3 separate regions of the Homo sapiens genome follow, and all the other regions are linked to region 2. The links are contacts of gene promoters, found by promoter capture Hi-C in human tissues and cell types (Jung and others, 2019). All regions are on one chromosome and are shown on one strand. The core of a region is centred on a gene start or on the middle of the fragment in contact, and the rest is flanking DNA. Distances in the headings are between cores, read along the strand shown.

The links. Contacts are between HindIII fragments. The study calls those that stand out against the background at their distance.
Region 1: a fragment that was not itself captured here is called in contact with the fragment with the promoter of THAP11 in region 2 in 1 of the 25 tissues and cell types used here (stomach).
Region 3: a fragment that was not itself captured here is called in contact with the fragment with the promoter of THAP11 in region 2 in 1 of the 25 tissues and cell types used here (adrenal gland).

The regions. Positions count from the first base shown.
Region 1 is chr16:68,942,777-68,946,385 of GRCh38, forward strand. The region is part of intron 14 of TANGO6 (transport and golgi organization 6 homolog); the gene reads left to right. Among named protein-coding and RNA genes, the nearest start is that of TANGO6, 100 kb to the left of the region's middle. The HindIII fragment of the contact is 7,830 bases long and covers 1-3,609 here.
Region 2 is chr16:67,840,797-67,844,105 of GRCh38, forward strand. It overlaps THAP11 (THAP domain containing 11), which reads left to right and starts at 1,524. Exons shown (of 1, transcript NM_020457.3): 1 at 1,524-3,309. The coding sequence starts at 1,759. The coding sequence ends at 2,703. The region is part of intron 1 of CENPT (centromere protein T); the gene reads right to left. RefSeq lists enhancers at 1,238-1,287, 1,740-2,486, 2,198-2,357, 2,798-2,847 and a silencer at 1,538-1,717. The HindIII fragment of the contact is 20,232 bases long and covers 1-3,309 here.
Region 3 is chr16:69,317,750-69,321,104 of GRCh38, forward strand. It overlaps VPS4A (vacuolar protein sorting 4 homolog A), which reads left to right. Exons shown (of 11, transcript NM_013245.3): 4 at 901-962; 5 at 1,074-1,193; 6 at 1,638-1,794; 7 at 2,392-2,540; 8 at 2,939-3,020; 9 at 3,302-3,355. Among named protein-coding and RNA genes, the nearest start is that of VPS4A, 8.1 kb to the left of the region's middle. The HindIII fragment of the contact is 4,362 bases long and covers 1-3,355 here.

The DNA.
Region 1 (3,609 bases), core at 643-3,142, 1.1 Mb after region 2:
TTTAAGGGGAGAAAATGCTAAATGCAGTGATGTATGACCTATAAATCACAAGTAGCAAGATACTGCAAAAGTCAAGCCTCTGAAATATGAATCTGAGAAATTTTATTTCATTTATTTAATTTTTAATTTTTTTTTTTTTTTTTGAGACAGGGTCTGACTGTCACCCAGGCTGAAGTGCAGTGGCACAATGTCAGCTCACTGGAACCTCCACCTCCTGGAGTTCAAGCAGTCCTCCCACCTTAGACTCCCGAGTAGCTGGGACTACGGGCATATGCCACCACACCCAGCTAATTTTTGTGTTTTTTGTAGAGACAGGATTGTGCCATGTTGCCCAGACTGGTTTCAAACTCCTGGGCTCAAGCAATCAGCCTGCCTCAGTCTCCCAAAGGGCTGGGATTACAGGTGTGAGCCACTATGCCTGGCCTTATTTATATTTATATTCTTATTTTTATTTTTTATTTCTCTTTTTTTCTTTTTTTTCTTTATTTTATTTTATTATTTTTATTTTTTGAGACAGGGTCTTACCTTGTCACCCAGGCTGGAATGCAGTGGCATGATTAAAGCTCACTGCAACCTGAATCTGAGAATTTTTTTTTTTTTTTTTTGAGACAGAGTCTCGCTCTGTCACCCAGGCTGGAGTGCAGTGGCGCAGTCTTGGCTCCCTGCAAGCTCCGCCTCCTGGGTTCACACCATTCTCCTGCCTCAGCCTCCCGAGTAGCTGGGACTACAGGTGCCTGCCACCACGCACTGGCTAATTTTTTGTGTTTTTTAGTAGAGATGGGGTTTCACCATGTCAGCCAGGATGGTCTCAATCTCCTTACCTCGTGATCTGCCCTCCTTGGCCTCCCAAAGTGCTGGGATTACAGGCGTGAGCCACCGCACCCGGCCAAGATATTTTTTTTTTAACAGTGTCTGTAAAGTATTGTCTTGGTCTCAATTTTTTGCCCTTTAAGATAAGAATCTCCTCATTCCTTTTAGTATGGAAAGGGGGTCTTTTATATGAGAATTTTATTTTTTGCTTTTAAGAAACAGCACGAAGGTCAAAATAATATTTTTTAAAATATCTGCTAGTTTTTACGTGTTTTTTACTTAAATTGTCAGCATGCCAGCCTAGCTGAGGAGTTTTGGAAAAAGAGAGTTAGCTTAGAGCAAGAGAGTAAGAAGGAATTCTAAGAAGGGGAGGGGCAAGCTCCAAAGAGGAGAGTCTCAACCAACTTTGAGATAGTATTTTATAGCTAGTCAGTCTTTGAGTCCGGGTTGGGTTTGGTTTTTTTAGCCTAAAGATATCCCTTGAGATATGAGTCTTATTTGGAATGTATGATTTTATTGCCATGGTCTTTTAGTTTAGTTTTAAGAACAACAGACTGCATGATCCCTGTAATGTTTGAACATGTTACCAGCTGGAATCTCAAAATATATCTTGGCATGTCTTTGAACTTTGAGAGCCCATTTGTAATTAAACTTATCTAGGTGACTCAGTTTAATGTTGAATATACAAAAGCCAATTAAATGCAAGTGTTGAATATGCAAAAGCCAAATAAACACAAGTGCTGATGGAAAATAAAGTATGTACTTACCAAGAGGACGATCAGCTGCCTTTCCCAACTGAAGGGAAAAGGAAAAATTCTTTCACCCAGGCCTCAACCTGGAGGAAAAATATCTCTTCACTCAGACCTCACAGCTGAGGTCTGCCAGGAGGAAAAGAGTCCTCCCCAACAGATGATCTCCCAACCAGAGAGAGACCCCCCTCCAAATAAGAGGAGGAAAGACCCTTCTCTAAGCAAATCCCAAACAAAACAGAACTTTACCCAAAGCAGGAGTGCCATCCAGGAGACTCACCAGGGAACACCTAGCTGACTCGTGGGAGAGAGGGTGCTCAAAGGCCCTCAATGTGAGTACCTTATGTCATAGTTCCAAGGGCCGATGATTTTTCCCAAGGTGAGTCAGGTTTGGAATCCCACTTCTGACACCACATATGTCAAAATCAAATAAAATATAAGGACAAATCTCTAAATTTAAAACATTTTGCAGAAGCAAGAATTGCAATTCAGGGCATACACAGACAGGGTGGTCTTCCATATGTCTGAAGAACAAAGATAAGTTTAGAGGTTTGGCCGGGCACGGTGGCTCACGCCTGAGGCAGGCAGATCACTTGAGGTCAGGAGTTCGAGACCAGCCTGGCCAACATGGTGAAAACCCATGTCTACTAAAAATACAAAAATTAGCCAGGTGTGGTTGTGCACACCTGTAATCCCAGCTACTCTGGAGGCAGGAGAATCACTTGAACCCAGGAGGTAGAGGTTGCAGTGAGCTGAGATCAGGCCACTGCACTCCAGCCTGGGTGACAGGGCGAGACTCTGTCTCAAAAACAAAAAAGAAGAAGAAGAGGAAGAAGTTTGGAGATTTTATAAAAAGGAGAAATGTTACATACTGTTCCAGAAAGAAAGTTCATTGGCACTGTAAAGTTCTGAGCAGCTGACAAGCTCTGAGGAGTGACAGTGGTGGGTAAAACTAGTCTTAGAGTTGCAGCAAGTTTGTTTCAGTAGCTAAGATAAAACTGGTTTTAGGTTACTTTTTTAAATTTCTTTTTTATTTTATTTTTTTTTAATTTCTTGGTTTTAGGTCACAATAGGGAGTTTCAGCAGCTGGGCTTGTAGGGAATTATACTTTTGGGGCAATATTATGTGCACTGCGTGCTTTGTTTCCCTGGCCTCTCAACTCTTAGGTGGGTATGACAAAAATGACCAAATTTGTTTGATCAGCTTTCACATAGCCACCCTAATGGGTGTGAAGGGGTATCTCATTGTGATTTGATTTGCACTTCACTCATGACTAGTGATGTTGAAGATCTTTTTATGAGTTCATTGCCCATTTGTAAATCTTCATTAGAGAAGTGTCTATTCAGATTCTTTGCCTTTTTTTTTTTTGAGATGGAGTCTCACTCTGCTGCCCAGGCTGGAGTGCAGTGGCATGATCTTGGCTCACTGCAACCTCCACCTCCCAGGTTCAAGTGATTCTCCTGCCCCAGCCTCCTGAGTAGCTGCGATTACAGATGCCTATCACCACACCCAGTTAATTTTTGTATTTTTAGTAGAGACAGGGTTTAGCCATGTTGGCCAGGCTGGTCTCGAACTCCTGACCTCAGATGATCCCCCGCCTTGGCCTCCCAAAATGCTAGGATTATAGGCGTGAGCCACTGCGCCCAGCCTCTTTGCCCATTTTTAATTTTTTTTTTCCTTCCTATCATTGAGTTATAACAGTTCTTTATACATTCTGGAGAAAAGTCCTTTATCAGATGCATGATTTGCAGATATTTTCTGCCATCCTGTGGATTGTCTTTTCTCTTACATAATGGTGTCATTTGAAACACAGAAGTTTTTACTTTCAATGAAGTCTAATTTCTGTTTCTTCTTCTTCTTCTTTTTTTTTTTTTGACACTGAGTCTTGCTTTGTCGCCCAGGCTGGAGTGCAGTGGCACGATCTCGGCTCACTGCAAGCTCCGCCTCCCGGGTTCACGCCATTCTCCTGCCTCAGCCTCCCGAGTAGCTGGGACTACAGGCTCCCACCACAATGCCCGGCTAATTTTTTTGTATTTTTTAAGTAGAGACA
Region 2 (3,309 bases), core at 274-2,773:
TAATTCACCTGGAGAACTGCCTGGCCCCTCCCTGGCTTTCCACAACATTTTGTGTTCTTTAAAACATTTTCCCCCAGCCAGGCGCCGTGATCCTAGCTCACGCCTGTAATCCTAGCACTTTGGGAGGCCGAGGCGAGCAGATTGCCTGAGCTCACGAGTTCGAGACCAGCCTGAGAAACATGGCGAAACCCCGTCTCTACTAAATACAAAATACATATATATATATATATATATATATATATATATATATTAGCCGGGCATGGTGGCATGCGCCTGTAGTCCCAGCTACTCCGGAGGCTGAGGCAGGAGAATTGCTTGAACCCAGGAGGCGGAGGTTGCGGTGAGCCGAGATCTCACCATTGCACTCCAGTCTGGCGACACAGTGAGACTCCTTTACAAAAAAAAAAAAAAAAAAAAAAAAAAAAGATTCCCTCAAATAAGTTGAGGTGGGGGGAGGTGTATTGTTACAATGCAAATCCTTTCCCATAAAATCCTTTAATAGCTCTCAGTGGCCTGCAGAATAAAACCCCAAATCCTTAACATGTCCCAGTTTGGTATTTTCCTACGCTTGGCCCTACCCGGGCCACCCCTTTCCAGGCTCTTTAATGGCGGAGCCTAGCTCTTTTCTGCCATGTGGCCTTACAGACTGGTTCCTGGGACAAGAATTGGCTACTTCTCCCTACCCAAGCTTTCGTTCGTTTTTTTATTCCTGGCCCCCACCACCTCCCCCCCATTTCTCTGCTCTCCTGTTAATTCCTTTGGAGCGATTACTATTTGTGAGTAGACATCCATTCGCGTGCATTCAGATCTATTATCCAAAAGACAGACGCTTATCCGTCTAGGTAGTCAGGCTCCAAGAGAGGAGCCCAGTCGGTCTGACTCCCGCAAACTCCCGGCACCGTGTCAGCCACATAGTAGGCGTCTACTGGAGACTTTGTTTAGATCAGTTAGTCAACGCAGGCAGCAGCTGAATCAGGAGAGAGTCCCCAACGCAAAGAAAGGGGCTCCTGAGACCCTTCGGGGCGCCGAGGCCCAGGTTTCGTCTCCCTCTGCTGCAGCAATGCCGTCGACTCAAAGGGGCTCGGGGCTGGGGAACTGGTTCTGGCAAACAGCACAACCTCGCCCGAATCCTGGTCCGCAGTAACTCGATCTTTCCCTTAGGCGGCGCTTCGGAGGGAAGGCGCCTAGTTCAGCGCGAGGCATCACGGGATTTGTAGTCTCCGTGGGCATATACCCACCGCGCTTGCGCACCGGTGAGGCGCGCACCGCCCCGCTCCACGCCCCTATCAGGATTCGGGTCCTCGTGAGGAGCAGTCCAGGCGACAGCGTTCCAACCTAATACGCCTCTCTCGCCCGCCGGGGACAAGACGGGCTGGGGAAAGAATCTGCTCTTCGGAGGCTATCGCAGTGCCTTGGAAGGCGGCAGGAATCCGCACACACCCGCCCCGGAAGTGAGCCGCTTCTGGCGCGGGGCATTGTGGGGGGCGTAGTCTCTTTCTCAGGCGGTCCTTCGCGGCGTCCCCGGGGCCCACTCCCGAGCGCAGGCGGGCAGCCAGGCGGGCGGCGCGGCGCGGGCCGGCAGGAAGCGTATTCTGGGCACGGGGCGCCGGGCGGGCCGGCTGCGCCGAGCGGCAGTGGTGGGATACCACCCAAGGCCTCGCGCGGCGCCGCCCGTCGAGGGGCGGGCGGCGGCGTAGCCACTGGGCCGTCGAAGAGCGCAGGAGGCCGGTGGGCCGGGCCGGGCCGCGCGGCGCAGCCATGCCTGGCTTTACGTGCTGCGTGCCAGGCTGCTACAACAACTCGCACCGGGACAAGGCGCTGCACTTCTACACGTTTCCAAAGGACGCTGAGTTGCGGCGCCTCTGGCTCAAGAACGTGTCGCGTGCCGGCGTCAGTGGGTGCTTCTCCACCTTCCAGCCCACCACAGGCCACCGTCTCTGCAGCGTTCACTTCCAGGGCGGCCGCAAGACCTACACGGTACGCGTCCCCACCATCTTCCCGCTGCGCGGCGTCAATGAGCGCAAAGTAGCGCGCAGACCCGCTGGGGCCGCGGCCGCCCGCCGCAGGCAGCAGCAGCAACAGCAGCAGCAGCAGCAACAGCAGCAACAGCAGCAGCAGCAGCAACAGCAGCAGCAGCAGCAGCAGCAGCAGCAGTCCTCACCCTCTGCCTCCACTGCCCAGACTGCCCAGCTGCAGCCGAACCTGGTATCTGCTTCCGCGGCCGTGCTTCTCACCCTTCAGGCCACTGTAGACAGCAGTCAGGCTCCGGGATCCGTACAGCCGGCGCCCATCACTCCCACTGGAGAAGACGTGAAGCCCATCGATCTCACAGTGCAAGTGGAGTTTGCAGCCGCAGAGGGCGCAGCCGCTGCGGCCGCCGCGTCGGAGTTACAGGCTGCTACCGCAGGGCTGGAGGCTGCCGAGTGCCCTATGGGCCCCCAGTTGGTGGTGGTAGGGGAAGAGGGCTTCCCTGATACTGGCTCCGACCATTCGTACTCCTTGTCGTCAGGCACCACGGAGGAGGAGCTCCTGCGCAAGCTGAATGAGCAGCGGGACATCCTGGCTCTGATGGAAGTGAAGATGAAAGAGATGAAAGGCAGCATTCGCCACCTGCGTCTCACTGAGGCCAAGCTGCGCGAAGAACTGCGTGAGAAGGATCGGCTGCTTGCCATGGCTGTCATCCGCAAGAAGCACGGAATGTGAACTGGTGCCCCGGCAGCCTGCTGGACTCCCAGACCCCATCCAGCCAGGGGACCGCAGGCCATTGTTGAACTCCTCTATACTCCTGGGCACTGGTTGACAGTACTGAGGCTTAAGGCAGCTGGACTCTCTTGCTGGTGACCTGGCATCCTCAATTGTTTCCTCCTGAAGTGGAAGCTGGGGCCTTAGACTCTGCCCTGGTGACACCAGCAATTATGACTTTGTCTACCCTTCCTCCCCAGTTATTGTTGCAGATTCTGGTTAAGCAGAGGCTTCAGAACCACTGAACTTGAAACTTACCCTCTAGGGATGCAGGTGGGATGTCCAGGGACTATAGGTTTGGGAAAACCATACCTTAAGGTTGGTCAGCAGTCAGACAACTCTAATGTGTGTAGTGATAAGAGATTCAAGTAACATCAGTTCTCCTCCTTTTCATGCTTTTCCTTCCCAGGTGCAGCCTGTGATTCTGATGGGGACTGGTAAATCTGTGCCTCTGCCTCCTAGGACTTATTTTCCCAGGAGGCCATTTACAAGGGGATCTGGATGACCTGCTGATGGAGATCCAGCTTGCCAGGGACTTAGGTTTATCCTGTTTTGTTTGCTACTGGT
Region 3 (3,355 bases), core at 856-3,355, 1.5 Mb after region 2:
GCCACTACACTCCAGCCTGGGCGACTGAGTGCGACTCTGTCTTAAAAAAAAAATTAGCCAGGCATTGTGGCATGTGCCTGTAATCCCAGCTACTCGGGAGGCTGACGCCAGAGAATTCAGAGAATTACTTGAACCCGGGAGGCGGAGATTGCAGTGAGCTGAGATGGAGATTGTGCCATCGCACTCCAACCTGGGCACCATCTCAAAAAAAAAAAAAAAAAAAAAAGAAGCTTCTGGCAGCTGCATTGTTTGACTGGCTTTTTTTTTTTTTTTTCCCCCAGACAGGGCTTCACTGTCTCCCAGGCTGGAGTGCAGTGGTGCGATCTTGGTTAACTGCAACCTCTGCCTCCCAAGTAGCTGGCACCATAGGTGCGTGCCACCATGCTTGGCTAATTTTGTGTTTTTTGTAGAGACAAGATCTCGCTGTTTCCCAGGCTGGTCTCAAACTCCTGGGCTCAAGCGATCCTCCCGCCTCAGCCTCCCAGAGTGCTGGGATTACAGGGGTGAGCCACCGCACCCAGCCTGGGCTGTGAGAGCCACTGCAGGTGGCCTCCCAGAGTATGAGGTGTGAGTCACCGCACCTGGCCTGGGCTGCTCTTTAAGTCCAGCTGAAGCACATTTCCCTTACGGCCTTCAGGAGAGGGCCGACCCGGATTCCCATCTGCTCCGCGAAGAAACAGGGCGGGTTATAGGAGTGTTTGCTGGGGGGGTCCTGAAGTGAGCTGCTGAGAGCATTGGCCCAAATGTCCCTGAAGTACTTGCTTGAGTCACACGGCACTGTTAAGCCAGGAAGGCTTCGTTCCTTAACCAGTGTGCAGGCAGCGGAGCCTGGACTTGCTGGGAGCACCTCTGTGCTCCAGGCTGAAGGGCCAGCTTGTGACTTTCCGTCTCCCTTCCCAGCAGTGACAGTGACAGTGAAGGGGATAATCCGGAGAAAAAGAAACTGCAAGAACAGCTGATGGGTAAGTGGCTCGCGGCCCTGTGGCAGCGGCAGGGGATGAGAGTGGGTCCGCTGCTGGGTTGGCTCATGCCCCTTGGCCGGGCCCGGGCCCGGGCCGGCCTCCCTCTCGCAGGTGCCGTCGTGATGGAGAAGCCCAACATACGGTGGAACGACGTGGCCGGGCTGGAGGGGGCCAAGGAGGCCCTCAAAGAAGCTGTCATTTTGCCAATCAAATTCCCACACTTGTTCACAGGTGAGAGTTGAGCCATTTCAAACCCCAATGTAAAAATTCCAGGCTTCCGCAGGGCTGGCACTCCGAGGCACCCGGGAGTCAGTGGCGACTCAGCCCCCGGGGCCTGCAGAGGGCCAGGCCTGGCTGCTCGCTGGTGTCCACAACACTGCTGTGGCTGGAGCTATGAGATGACGATCACGTCACAGGGTGGGGGCAGGATCAGGAAGCAGTGCCAGCCGGTGTCACTGTGCAAGGTCATGGGGTCATAGCAGGGGCACTGTGCAAGGTCATGGGGTCATAGCACAGGGCACAGCAGGGAATGTAGCTCCCATCACTTGTTTGCCAGTAGAGTCCGTTGTTTCACAGAATGCCCTGTTTTACTGTATGTATGGGACTCGAGACCCTCTGCTTTTCCTATTCCTTTCCCCAGTCAGGAGGCCTAACTTCTGTGGTTCTCTGTTGCAGGCAAGCGCACCCCCTGGCGGGGGATTCTGCTGTTCGGACCCCCTGGCACAGGGAAATCCTACCTGGCCAAAGCCGTGGCAACAGAGGCCAACAACTCCACCTTCTTCTCTGTGTCCTCCTCAGATCTGATGTCCAAGTGGCTGGGGGAGAGTGAAAAGTAAGTCGGCCACCAGGCCATGCTCTGCCAGCAGCCCCGGCACTGCTAGTGACCCAGCGGCCCACCCTGTGGAGTCACCTCTCAGAGGAGTGGTTTGGTTTTCAGGGAGGGTACCCAAGAGCAGTGTGTCGCTAGCTTATCGGCTGGGACACAGTCCCAACAAAGACAAGTGAAGGTGGAAGGGACCTGGGAGAGGTGAAGTGCTCCACAAGAGAAGGGAAAGGAAGTGAGGATATTTTTGGGGTCTGGGTTGCGGTCCCTGTTGGGGCAGTGTGTGGGGGACATGGTTCCCCACACTGACTCCTGTTTTGCGTGTGATGAGACGGGCTCGGAAGAAGGGGACTGACGTGTTGTAAGTGCAGAGCTAGCGCATGGGGCTCCTGGGATTGAGGCTCTGCGTTTGGGGCTGACACCAAGGTGTGCTCCTCCTCTTGGTGCAGTGTGGCCCGAGGGCTCCTCACCACCACGTTTTCCGCAATTCCGGCATGACCGTGGCCTGCGCCTCCCTGTGGGAAGGGTGAGAAGAGGGAAGTGCCGGGAGCCCAGGCGGGCACGGACGTGAACGTCTTGTCCTCACCCCCTTTCTCACCTTCACAGGCTGGTCAAGAACCTGTTTGAGCTGGCCAGGCAGCACAAGCCCTCCATCATCTTCATCGATGAGGTGGATTCCCTCTGCGGGTCCCGAAATGAAAATGAGAGTGAGGCCGCCCGGAGGATCAAAACGGAGTTCTTGGTCCAGATGCAGGGTGTGTGCCGGGCCCAGGGCCCCCTTGGTTCTTGTTGCACCTGAAGCCAACCCTGGGCTTTATTCTGAGCTGCGGCTGGATTTGGTTGTTCTCAGCCTCGGAGAGGCACTCCCCAGCTCCAGCCCCTCAGGGCACGGGTGGACTTCAATTCCCAAGAGGTGCCTGAGGCCTCTGCCTCACGGGCCACTCCACCCCTCCCATGGCAGGCAGTGCCATAGGTCTCACCTGGCACAGCCAGACCAAGATGTGGTTTAATCTCACTTGGGACCCTGCCAGTGGTGGGTGGCACAGGGATGGCTTCAATTGCTGACACACAAAGCCCCCGGGGTCTGTCCCCAGGTTTCAACTGACCCGTGCAGGTGTCCAGAGTCTGAGTCTTTGTCTCCCTTTCTCCACAGGGGTGGGGAATAACAATGATGGGACTCTGGTTCTTGGAGCCACAAACATCCCATGGGTGTTGGATTCGGCCATCAGGAGGAGGTGAGTCTTCCCCAGGAGAAGCCAGGGCTGGAGGCTTCCTCCCACCATGGTCACGGTCCGCCTGCTGCTGGCAGCCCGGGTGCAGCCTGGCCCCTTTTCCCTGGAGTCTTCCCGTCTGCCTGCCAAGCAGAGCCCTTTGTGAGGCTGGCTTGTTGAGGATGTGCCGCCAGCATCACTGGCCCATGAAATGCGTCCGTTTCACTCAAATCTTCGTGCCTCCCCTTCCGTGAATACCATTCCATCATCCGCTGTCAACTCCTGCCGTGTGCTGGGCTCTCTAGGTTTGAAAAACGAATTTATATCCCCTTGCCGGAGGAAGCTGCCCGCGCCCAGAT